2 separate regions of the Homo sapiens genome follow, and region 2 is linked to region 1. The links are contacts of gene promoters, found by promoter capture Hi-C in blood cells and fetal thymus (Javierre and others, 2016). All regions are on one chromosome and are shown on one strand. The core of a region is centred on a gene start or on the middle of the fragment in contact, and the rest is flanking DNA. Distances in the headings are between cores, read along the strand shown.

Region 1 (5,618 bases), core at 1,633-4,132:
GGGAGACGGAGGTTGCAGTGGGCGGAGATGGCATCACTGCACTCTAGCCTGGGTGACAGAGTAAGACTCCGTCTCAAAGAGACAAAAAAAAAAAAAAAAGGAAAAAAAAAAAAGAGACAAATAAAGTAGCAGCAGCAGACTCTAGTACATGCCTCTCACTGCTTGACAGATCTCAAAGGTAAAAACAAATTAGAATGCCAAGTATTGGAATTAGAATAGTAAAATTTTTGAAATGTTGATTTGAGGGATAATAAACTCACAACCCTGAGAAAATATACACTTTTGTTTAGAAAATGTGGAGAAATCATCGGCAATGGCATCAAAAAATGTTCAATCTGTCTCCAAAGCAGAATCACAGATAACACATTTCCCTAAAAACAATGGCATAAAAATCATTTTTTATGAATTAGAAAAAATAATAGAATTGATCGATAGCAGCAAAAACTTGTTCTGAAGTAGGCTTAGAGTTGAGGACAGTAAAACAGATGAAACAGGAAAATATGAGCATGCAACGCAATTTCAGAGACTAAAAAAAGAGTAAACTGCAGGTGGAGACCCACCAAATGACAGGGGAAGGGTTGGCGCTATTTACCAAGCACCTAATATGTGTTTTATTCAGTGGTCCTCTTCCAGCTTCAGTTTACAGATGACAAGGAAGACTGGGGGCTTAGAAGATGATTAAAAGCAATCATAGAAGAGTGACTGTTAAAGGCAAGAAAAAGGTCTATTTTTGAGAAAACTGAGTGAAGACAGAAAGCTCAACAGCATCATGATGTTAAAATTGCTTCAGAGAAAACCGACAGGCCCAGATACTTTGCCTGTGCCCAGCTTCTAGCTATGCCAGGAGCAGATCTTTCCTACATTAGGTAAACCCTTAGAGAGCATGGGAAAGTCCCAATTCATTTTACAAAATAGCAAATTCCTGATACGAAAGCCTGATGAAGATTTCAGGGAAGAAAAACTATGTATCGATTATTTTTTTCTTTTTTACTATACTTAAAAAACTCAAATAAAATGTCAGCAATTAGGACCCAGCAGCACTTTAAAAGAGCTCACGTGGCACTAGCGTGATTATTTCAGCGGTGCAAAGAGACTTCGAGGTTAGCAAATCTGCTGAAAGGATCACATTTGAAGTCTAGCTAATGCTAAAAGGCTTTGATTAAAAACTCTCCCAAAACTTTCATGCATCTGTCATCCCCAAAGAAGTGATTTTTCCTAACATGATAAATAATACCAGCCTCAACCAACAGCCTACAGCATCCCCACAGCTAAATACCAGGATCATTCCTGCTCCACCAAGGTCAGGATTAAGACAGGGCTCTTTGTTGTAACTACTGCTACGTAACAATGTGCCATTGTACTAGCTACCACAGAACAGAATAAAGAAGTAGACAAAATTATCATTATTTCCAGATGGCAGGACTTTTAAGCTGAAAAATCTGCTACACTATTATAATTAAGGGATTTCAAAATGAATATCAAAAATGTAGTCTTCCTGTATACCAACAATGACTAATTAGAATATTCTTAGATTCAAAAAAGTATATTGTAAAAATGTCAGTATCTCCAAATCAATTTTGAAATTTAACTCAATTCTATTTGAAATCTCACCAAATTATATTTTTCTTGAAACAGGATGAAATAATTCTTGAAATCATCTGGAAATATAAACAGATGAGAATAGCTAAAATAATTCAGGAAGAAGAAAAGAGAAGCAGGTTAATGAAGAGGCGTTTCTATTTTGGATAGAAAAACTACAATAAAAATAAAATAATAATTTAATAAAATAAATACTAAAGATAACGAGCACCACCATAAAGTCAATGGAACAGCATAGAGAAAGTATAGAAAGCCCTACATCAGAGCTGAGGATTTCTGTGATACTATTAGCAAGGAAAGCCTGGATTGTGTTAAACATGATGTCAGGATAGTTCATTAAACCCATGCTAAAAACCAACCGGGTCTGTTCTTCATATGTTACATCAGAAAGTGCATTTCAGATGGACAGAGCCTGCGATGCCTGCCGGTCCTCCAGCCTCTCCTAAGCTGCTGTTCTGTGGACACGACAGGGTAGAGCCCAAGCTGGAAGCCCGTGGGCCCGACACGCATAGCCTGCTCGTTGATTTCCTTTCAGCACTGATTTTTAAAGAATAATCCAATTAAAGATTATTTGTGACTTTTCTTTTTTTTTGAGACAGAGTCTCACTCTGTTGCCCAGGCTGGAGTGCAGTGGCATGATCTCGGCTCACCGCAACCTCCGCCTGCTGGGTTCAAGCGATTCTCCCACCTCAGCCTCCCGTGTAGCTGGGATTACAGGTGCCCAGCTCATTTTTGTGTCTGTTTTAGTAGAGACGGGATTTCGCCATGTTGGCCAGGCTGGTCTCGAACTCTTGACTTCCGGTGATCCGCCCACCTCAGCCTGCCAAAGTGCTGGAATTACAGGCATGAGCCACCGCTTCTTAAACATAAATAGGGAGACAGATTTTATGGTGGGGCAGACCGAGAATTCCAGTGGCTTCTGAGCACCTCTCAAGCCAGTTCCTCACACGCCTGTATATTGGGTATATTGGGATGTCATTTATCCTGCACGTTTCAGAAGGACAATTCTCTAAAACTTTCACTTTGACCTTTGTTTTTGAAAATCAGAACATTTCACACAGAGGCACCAATATCTGGTTTCTTTTGAAAAGCTGGAAGATCTGAGGCAACACCGTTCAAGGTCCTGCACTCACAATGCACCCTGTGGACAGTGCAAGATGCACCCTGCTCGCAGCATGGCCCCTCTCTCTGGGAGCACCTGCCCCGTCTGCCCACTGCTTACCTGATTGCAGCTGCAGGGCAGGGCGCGAGGCAGGCAATGATGTGTCTCTGCTCCTACTCAGATACCTCTGGGTCCCCATGTCCCCTGTCTTCTTGGGGTGCACATTCCCACGAATGCCTCTGATGAGGTCTCTTCCTCCCATACATAAAGACTCACAGGCAGTTATACTCCCTCCTCCCACTGCCATGCGGCTTCTGTCGCTGTGCACCTCGGGGACTAGCTGTCCCCAGAAGCCAGCGACGTTCTGCTCATTTCTGGGCCCACATTTTGGCTCTTGTTCTGCTCCCCTTTCCTTCAGTGTCTGGCGCTGTGGCCCCAGCCTTCCGTCCCCACCGTCCACACTCAGAACAATGTACCCGCCCCTGCGGTTCCTGTAGTCACTTCCAGCTGACGACTCCCAGGCTGCCCCGATCCCTCTGCAGAACTAACTCCTGTGTCCAGCCAATGACTCAAGACCTCCCCTGGCCATGGAGCCCCTGCCCCTGTGCTCTTCCTCTCAGGGAGTGGTGCGGCTGCCCACGCCCCCCGGATGCCCCACTGAGCTCCCGTGTGGACCCTTCCCCTCCCCTCCCTCCACACCCGAGCACGCCTGAGTCCTTCTGCCCCACATCTTAAATGCCTCCAGAATCAGGTCTGCTGTCTCCACGTTCATGGGCTGCCATCCACCCTGTCCTTGTTCAGGTTCCGTCCCTCCCAGGCTGGATTATTGTCACCGCTCTCTCACTGGTCTTCCTCCAGTCTCTCCTGACTCTGTCTGATCCATCATCCCAGTAGCAGGGAATGACATTCAGGGAATGACACGCAGACCTCTCTCCTGGCCACGTCCATTGCATGTTCTTAGCATAAGCCCCTTGCTCCTGAGTCAGCCTCTCTATGGCCTCACTGCCTCTCTTGCTCCTGCCCCTCCTGGAATCCCTGGCTGCTGCAGGAGGCACCTCTTCAGTGCCATGAGAGCACCGTGCTGATTCAGTCCCCACTGCTGCCCTGCCAGTTGCCCTTCAGGACTTGCCTCAGACGTAGCTTCTTCCTGATGGGCTCACTTGAGCTCCCGATGCTACTGTTAGCTGCTCCCAGAGATGAGGAATTTCAGGGTGCCTCCAGGCTTCTGCTTTCATTAGGGTTTCCCTGCAGAGGGGGAAAGTGCACTTGAGGAGAGAGAGGAAGATGAGGGGCTTAGTTTGGGGCATGCTGGGCTTGCAGCGCCTATGGGACACCCTGTAGAGAGCTCCAGGAGTACCCCTGACATCCAGAACGCCCACCAGAGACTGAGGTCAGATGTCAAGATGTGTAGGGGGTCGGTCCAAGGTTTATTAAGTGTCTAATATGTGCCAGTCATTGTTTCAGGCAATTGAGATAAATCAGGAGAAAAAAACAGTCCCAAACTCTTGCCTTCATGAAATGTAAATTCTAGTGAAGGCAGGAAATAAGTCAGAAAAATAAATAATACCCATGATATGTAAGGAAATTATTTAGAGTGTGGAAGGTGGTGAGTGGATGGGAACAGAAGGTCAGGGTGGGCTGGGGGGTGGTGGTGGGGATGTGCCAGAGAGGAGGCGACACCAGGGCAGAGTCTCAAAGAAGATGTGAGTTAGCCTGTGGCTGTCTGTCGGACACACGTAGGTGGAGAGAAAATGAGGTGCAAAGGCTGCAGGCTGGGGAGTGCAAGAAGGGGGTCAGGGGGTTGGGGCAAGGCTGGCTGCAGCAGAGTGATAGGGAGTGGCAGGAGACAGTGACAACCAAGAGCAGAAGGAGCCCACTCAGAGCCTGAGGTGGTGAGGACCATGGTGAGGACGTTGGCTTTCACTCTGACGGCAGTGGCATGGCACCACCCACACTGTAAATGGCTGACTCTGACCACTGCATTGAGATCGGGCTGGAGGAGTCAGGTGAGGAGGGGGAGCCCGTGCAGAGACCCTGAGGTCATCAGGGAAAAGGCTGCAGGAGCGCAGGCCAGGGCAGGAGGCGTGGGAAGGGCAAACCTGTCCGGTGTGTGCTGAAGGCAGCCTCAACGAGGCTTTCTGGCTGGGTCCCTGAGAATCAAAAGTGACACCAGGAAGTCAATCTGTGCTGCCTGCAGGGATGTGAATGAGATTGACCAAGGAAAATATGAAGACTAAGAGGGCAAGAATAAAAGTTGAGAAGCCTCCCCCTCTAGAAGCAGGAAGAGGAGGAAGAGGGGCTGGTGAAGGTGGTGGGAGACGTGGGGAGACACTCGGGGACGTGTGGCCCAAGCCAGGACACGGTGGCTCCTCCAAGAGGAGGGAGCATGATTGGCAGGTAGGAGGCCATTGGTAACGGCAGAGGGAAAACATATCAGGGAGGGTTTGGGGGCAGAAGCTCAATGTTAATGGGGCAGGCAGAATTGGAAAGGAAGTGGCACAGAGCTAGCAGGAGCAGATGCCTCTCAGGAGGAAGGAAAACAGTGATACAATTTGGTGTACTTTCACAGTTTACCATTTCCCAAAACATTTCATCCTTTTACTTCTGGTGTCTTGAAGTGTAAGTAGGTATTTTACTTGAAAGCTTTTCTGAACCCAGTTCTGTGGAGTTAATATCACAATGGAAAGTATAAACACCAAACAAGAGTCCTCCAGAATGTGTTTCTGGGGAAGATCTGTCCCCGGGGAGGATGCCTGGAACGCATGCTTCTGAGCTGCAGTGGAGATGAGCGTGCGGCTGGAGGGGACACGGCAGCAAGGTCTAGGGGGTGGAGGGTCTTAGAAACCTACGTCTTCCTGCCCATCCCTTGTCACGCCTGTCCCCAAAATCACCAAGACGGCGAAGTCTGGCCCAGGCC
Region 2 (5,618 bases), core at 3,100-5,599, 950 kb before region 1:
TGGCTGGGAGTTCACCTGCCTCTGCTGAAGATCCCTGTGGAAAGCCTCTCACCAGCTCCCCGGGCAGAGGATGCCCATTAGAAAGTTCTCTCCATGAGGCTAAAATTCCCCTCCACCACCTGTGCAGGTGCTTTCAGCCAGAGCCAAGACACCAGCAGCCTTTCACCCCTAAGCAGTGGACACTCCCTAGGCCTCCTCCTGGTCTTGCTCTGATGGGCCTTAAAGCGGAGCTCAAAACAACTTCAGGCTCCCTGCAGGGCAGGGCGGGCAGCATGCTGGCTGTGTTCCTAATCAGCCTCTCAAACCTAAACTCTGATTCAAGATGCTTCTAAACCAACGGTTCTCAGCCCAGTTTTTACACAAACACACCTGCTACCTGGCACGTTCATCAACAACCAGTGGCTTGTGAACAGAGGGTGAAAGGTTCCCTTTCAGGCCCTTTACCTTATAACCTGGCAGGCGACACCCACAGGTGCCCCAGACACAAGGGGTTGAGAGCTGGAAACACAACCTCAGGGGACTTCAAACCCAATATGGGAGGAAAGGAAGGTCCTGAAATACCTAGAAGTTTCTTACTGTCCAGTTTCTGCCGGTTGAGGGGGTTCGTGCCATACAGGAGGGTGTGGGCTTCCGAGTGCACCGTCTGTAGCTCCTCCAGGGTGGCCTTGCGTCCGCGGATGCACTGTGGGGACAGGCGAGAGGACACTCACACGTTCTGCAGAAGCTGCTGCTTCAGCTCCACAGACAGAAACTCCAACTGAAACCATTGCCCAAAAGGAAACTTAATTTGATACAAAAACAAGCATGTTATTTGGTTACTGCAAAAGAAGAAGCAACATCACCCAACGTGATATTTTAAAATATTTAAGAAATATTTTAGAGGGCTTACACTTAATTATAGCTTTGAAAAAACACTTTAAAAGATAATTCCAGCCTTCAATGCATTACCCTTCACTGTCGCACGAATGACTTGGCATCAAATTATTACTTTGCTTTCCAGCTGCCAGGGTCTGGTCTTAAAATAGAGGTGAGCTGCTGAGCTCCCTCACGTTCAAGGGAAACCCCAGCCGCGCTCCCGGAGTCTCTGAGCCCCAGGATGAAGCAGCCTTCCTTGGACCGCCCGGGGCCACAGCTGCCAGGGTCTGGCATCTGTCCTGGATGGCTAGCTGGCATCCGGCTGCGTCTCTCTGAGGTTTGGAAATTCTTCAGATTGAGATCCCTGGGCTAATTCAGATTTTCTCCAGAAATTCACAGGAAAATTAGTGTTCTTTAGTTGAGCTACATTTATTTAGCCTTTTAAAGGGGACGATGGCTTTGGACATGAGATTCGAGTTAACATTTCACATGGAAATGGCTCTCAGAGGGTTAGGCCACCACAGGATGAGTCAGACGCCACTCAGGTGGCCCCGGTTGTGGCTGTTACCTGCTTCCCCCAGGCCTGAGCAGGATCTGCTCTCTCCCTCCCGACTGCAGCCCTGCCCCAGCATCCGCTGAGCTCCTGCAGGCCTCGGTGTCCACCCTGTATGTGAGACCTGTGGTGGGCGAAGCTCGAGGGCTCTCTATGCCAGCCCAGCACCTGGGGCTCCTCTCAGACCACCAGGAGCCGTAGCACACAGCCTTCCTGCAGGACGCATTGCACCTGGGGGTCCTGTCCATGCAGGGTGGAGGAAGAAGGGGCGGAGCCAAGAACTCAGTCCCCGCCCACAGGGGAGAGACCTCCAGAGGGCAGGTGCGCTGGGCAGGGACGGATGCTCTGCGGGTTCTCTTCTCATGAACAACAATTCCACAAAACCGGGCTTCCTCTATGAAGGTCTCTTGTTTAACAAAGAAAAGATGTGACACGGCTTCCGGTGGTAAAAAACGACTCTATGGTCCCATCCACATAACCTAGTGCTGCTTCTACTTTGGGGACATAAGTCACATGTCCCTGGAAAGCCAGGCAGGAGGGACGTACTCTCTGGGTAGGGGTCAGGGTGCAGTTGGGGCCCTGGGCGGCTGCGGGGGCTTCTAATTTATTTTATTTTATTTTTTTTGAAACGGAGTTTCGCTCGTTGCCCAGGCTGGAGTGCAATGGCGCAATCTTGGCTCACTGTAACCTCCATCTCCCGGGTTCAAGTGATTCTCCTGCCTCAGCCTCCTGAGTAGCTGGGATTATAGGTGCCCACCATCACACCTGGCTAATTTTTGTATTTTTATCAGACATGGAGTTTTGCCATGTTGTTCCAGGCTGGTCTTGAACTCCTGACCTCATGTGATCCACCCGCCACGGCCTCCCAAAGTGCTGGTATTACAGGAGTGAGCCACCGCACCTGGCCAGGGCTTCTCATTTCTAATGACTTCAGGAAGCCCACATGTGTGTACAGGCACAGGCAGCTGTGGCCAGGGCCAAGTTCCCTCTGGACAGACGGGCCTAGGCAGCCCACGCTTGGGAAGGTCCCCGTAGGGGACCACAGGCTGTGCCCTGCGGTGCCAAGAGGCAGGTCATGTAGTGTGGACTTTGGGTGAAAGAACGGCAGGGTAGCCATGTGTGTCCTCCCCACTCAAAAGCGACCCACTGGATAAGAGACTGAATTGCAGAAAGAGAGATCTGACGTTAGACCACAAATGAAATTCACAAATTAAAGTTGATGTTAGAATAAGGCAAAGAAGAAAAGTAGAAAAACCCTCTCCTTACAAACACATGAAATGGACACAGAAAAGACACAGGATCAAAGCCCCAAAAGCTCTGCGACACCGCGACGGCTGGGGCTGCAGGTGCGCGACACCGCAAGGGCTCGGGCTGTGCGTGCGGGACACCGCGATGGCTCAGGCTGTAGCGTGCAATATTGTGACGGCTCAGACTGAGCACCTGAGAGGCTTTTCCAGAGCCACTCTGGGAGCGGTGGTGATGGTGGCCCCTTCCTGCTTTCTTGGGAGGCTGACCTCGTTATTTCTGTCTCCCTTTAATTCCTAGGATAAGACAGAAGGAGTCTTTGCTCCTTACAGCAAACACAGGCTTGGGGCAGGGTGCAAATCCCAGTGGTGGCCCTGGTCTCTGTGGCATCTGACTTCCAGCCCACCCACTTCTCCTCTCCTTCCTGGACACCGTGCCTGGAGGCAGGACAAACCAAGCTGGGCAAGCAAATTGGCCAGGAGCTGTTCTGGCTCCCGGGAAGCCTCTGCAGGAGGGCGGGGCCCGCACACACACATGGCTATACTCAGAGGACCCCCGACTGCTCAGAACGTGTGAGGCAGCTTCCCAAGGCCTGCTCTGGAGTGAGGCAGGGAGCGAGACAGCTGCACTGGGAGCCACGTCTTGCTGGGCCGGCCTGCCAGTATCGACAGGGTCCCAAGCTTGCAGAAAGTATCTCCCAGCCCACTCTCATCCTTCCTCACCACGCGAAGCCAACTCAGCAGTGTGAGGGGAGGGCCTCACCCCCCAGGCCTCCAGGCAGTCGTCTACCCAGAGAAGGGGTGCTGACTCTGAGGCCCTGCCCTCGGGCCTGGGCTTCGGTCTTGCTGTGGCCTCCAAGTGGTCCGCGGACTGGGGAAGTCACAGCCCCATCCACCCCATCTTCTCCTATCGGGTACCCACTCTAACCATGCCCCGTACCCATGGCCCCTCTGCTCGGCCATCTCAGGAGGCCAGTGACCCCTGGCAGGCTGGCACTGGAAGTCTGGTGGGTGACGTCACGTCCCCCTGGGCTGAGTTAGCACACTGCTCGCTCTGAACCTGGAGGGGCACCCGCACTGGAGAGCTGCCCCACGTGTGGGAGCAAGGCACTGCTGTCCAGGGAGTATGGCCTCCACCGCCTCTGTGGCTGTCTCCCAGCCACCTGTCTTTCTCCAGCTCTCCTCTCCCTGAGATCCTGCCAGGCTCAGGTCTTGTCCCACAGCCCCAACACCTGGGGACCCTCTGCCAGCCCCTGGCCCAGTCGTGGCTGGCACCTTCACCCATGGTGCTGAGGACAGGCAGAGGAGCCGAGGGCGGGCGGAGGAGCTGAGGGCGGGCGGAGGAGCGGGCTGTTTCTTCCAGGGTCTTTGCTTTCTCACTCCTCCCTCCCTTGCTTGCATTTGCTTTGCTTTTCTGGCTGAGAGACCCTCTCCCAATCCCCTGGCCTCAGCGGAACCTCCTGGGGGTGGGGGCACATGTAGGGGAGGGACAAGGAAGCAGGTTATGGAGCTCTGGAAGCCTCAGGAGGCCTTGGGCAGTCCCCAGAAGGGGCAGCAGGACAGCTGTCTGGTCCTGTGGAGGGAAGGGACGTGGGGAAGGAGTTTCCTGCAGCCAGTGTCTGCTGGGCAATGCTGCCCTCCAGTGGCACAGCCGTCCTGACCAGATCCCTGAAGCAGGTGCCAAGAGCCTCTACAGTGGCTCCTCCCCGCCTTCCTCCTCCCTCCTCCCAGAGGGCACTGCAGGAGAGGGTCCTGGGCCTGACTTTTAGAGAATTCCCCCCTGAAAATTATGTATCACCAATAAAACTGGTAAAGGAAACGGGGGGTAAGATGAGGCACAGATTAAAAGTTCACAAATATCCCAGCTTCTAAAGGAGGGCAGGCGAACCTGCAGGGCGGGACCCTGCAGAAACTAAGCCAGGAGACCAGAGGCCCTCCGTGCCACGCCAGCTCCACGTGCTCACTCATCTCTGCCACAGCCACTTGGGCCCTGGGCTGTCGGGTGTCCAGGACTGTTGGAGGGGTGGGTGTGGATGTTCCTGTCCACCCTGTGCGCTATCTGTAGGATGGTGGGATTCCTGGTGTGGGGAGTGGACATAGCAGGTCTCTACTGGTGGGCCCTGGCATGGGTGGGGCCTTGTGCGACCCTGCACAGTGTTGCCAGCCCCTCTCTACAGACAAAGAAATGGAAATTTGTCCAAGGTCACCAGCTCCCAGACGGGAGTCTCTTCTCTTCCTGCCCTCGCTATCAGCAGGGCCTGGCCACACCCTCCTCCCTGTCAAGAGCTCAAGATCCCCTGTGACAGCTGCCTCCAGGGTGAAGAGCACCAGCTGGGACAGCCTCACCAAAGTGCGGCCCCCGTCCTGCCCTCAGGTGTTAATCGGCTGATCCTTCTTGCCTCCTTGGGCCTGGGAGTCCACTGCAGCCAGATTCGGGGCAGGGCTCTGGTTCCTATCAGGAGGCGGGGCCGGGCCCTCCTTGTATGAGAACAAGTGAGGCCGCTGCCATCGCCTGGCGGCCAGGGAAACTGAGGCACAGCCAGAGCTGCAGCATCCCCGAAGCCTCCTCGTGTGACTCAGCCACATAAGGGAGCTGAATTCAAACCAGGCCAGGGCCCTGCCTGCAGCTCCATTCCCTTCACGACCCACTGCCTCGCCAGCACCTTAACTCTGAGGAGGGCCCCAAGGGCCTGAGGTCTCCCTGTGTTCTCGAAGAAGCTTTTCAAAATCTTAAAAAAAGAGAAAATTATTTTAACAAAAAGCCAACAGGCCTGATCTGAGATATAATCGGATCTCCCCGTGGCTCCTTCCTGGCAGCCCTGGGGGAGCATGGTGGGAACTGGTTTCCTTGGGGAAGTGACCCGGAGGCAGAAAGCAACAGCCCTGGACCTTGAGAAGAGCCTGCTAGGTGGGAGGTGGGAGCGAAACATCAGGAAAGGTCACAGACAGAGGCAGCAGCTTCCTGC

What was found. Contacts are between HindIII fragments. The CHiCAGO score rates a contact against its expected background, and 5 or more counts as called.
Region 2: a contact is called between a fragment that was not itself captured here and the fragment with the promoter of OR6B3 in region 1, in 2 of 17 cell types (neutrophils and M0 macrophages). The highest score is 6.0, in neutrophils.

What each region holds. Positions count from the first base shown.
Region 1 is chr2:240,050,639-240,056,256 of GRCh38, forward strand. It overlaps OR6B3 (olfactory receptor family 6 subfamily B member 3), which reads right to left and starts at 2,883. Exons shown (of 3, transcript NM_173351.2): 1 at 2,822-2,883. RefSeq lists enhancers at 4,195-4,837, 4,838-5,478. The HindIII fragment of the contact is 11,088 bases long and covers 1-5,342 here.
Region 2 is chr2:239,102,215-239,107,832 of GRCh38, forward strand. It overlaps HDAC4 (histone deacetylase 4), which reads right to left. Exons shown (of 27, transcript NM_001378414.1): 16 at 562-682. Among named protein-coding and RNA genes, the nearest start is that of MIR4441, 19 kb to the left of the region's middle. The HindIII fragment of the contact is 2,037 bases long and covers 3,332-5,368 here.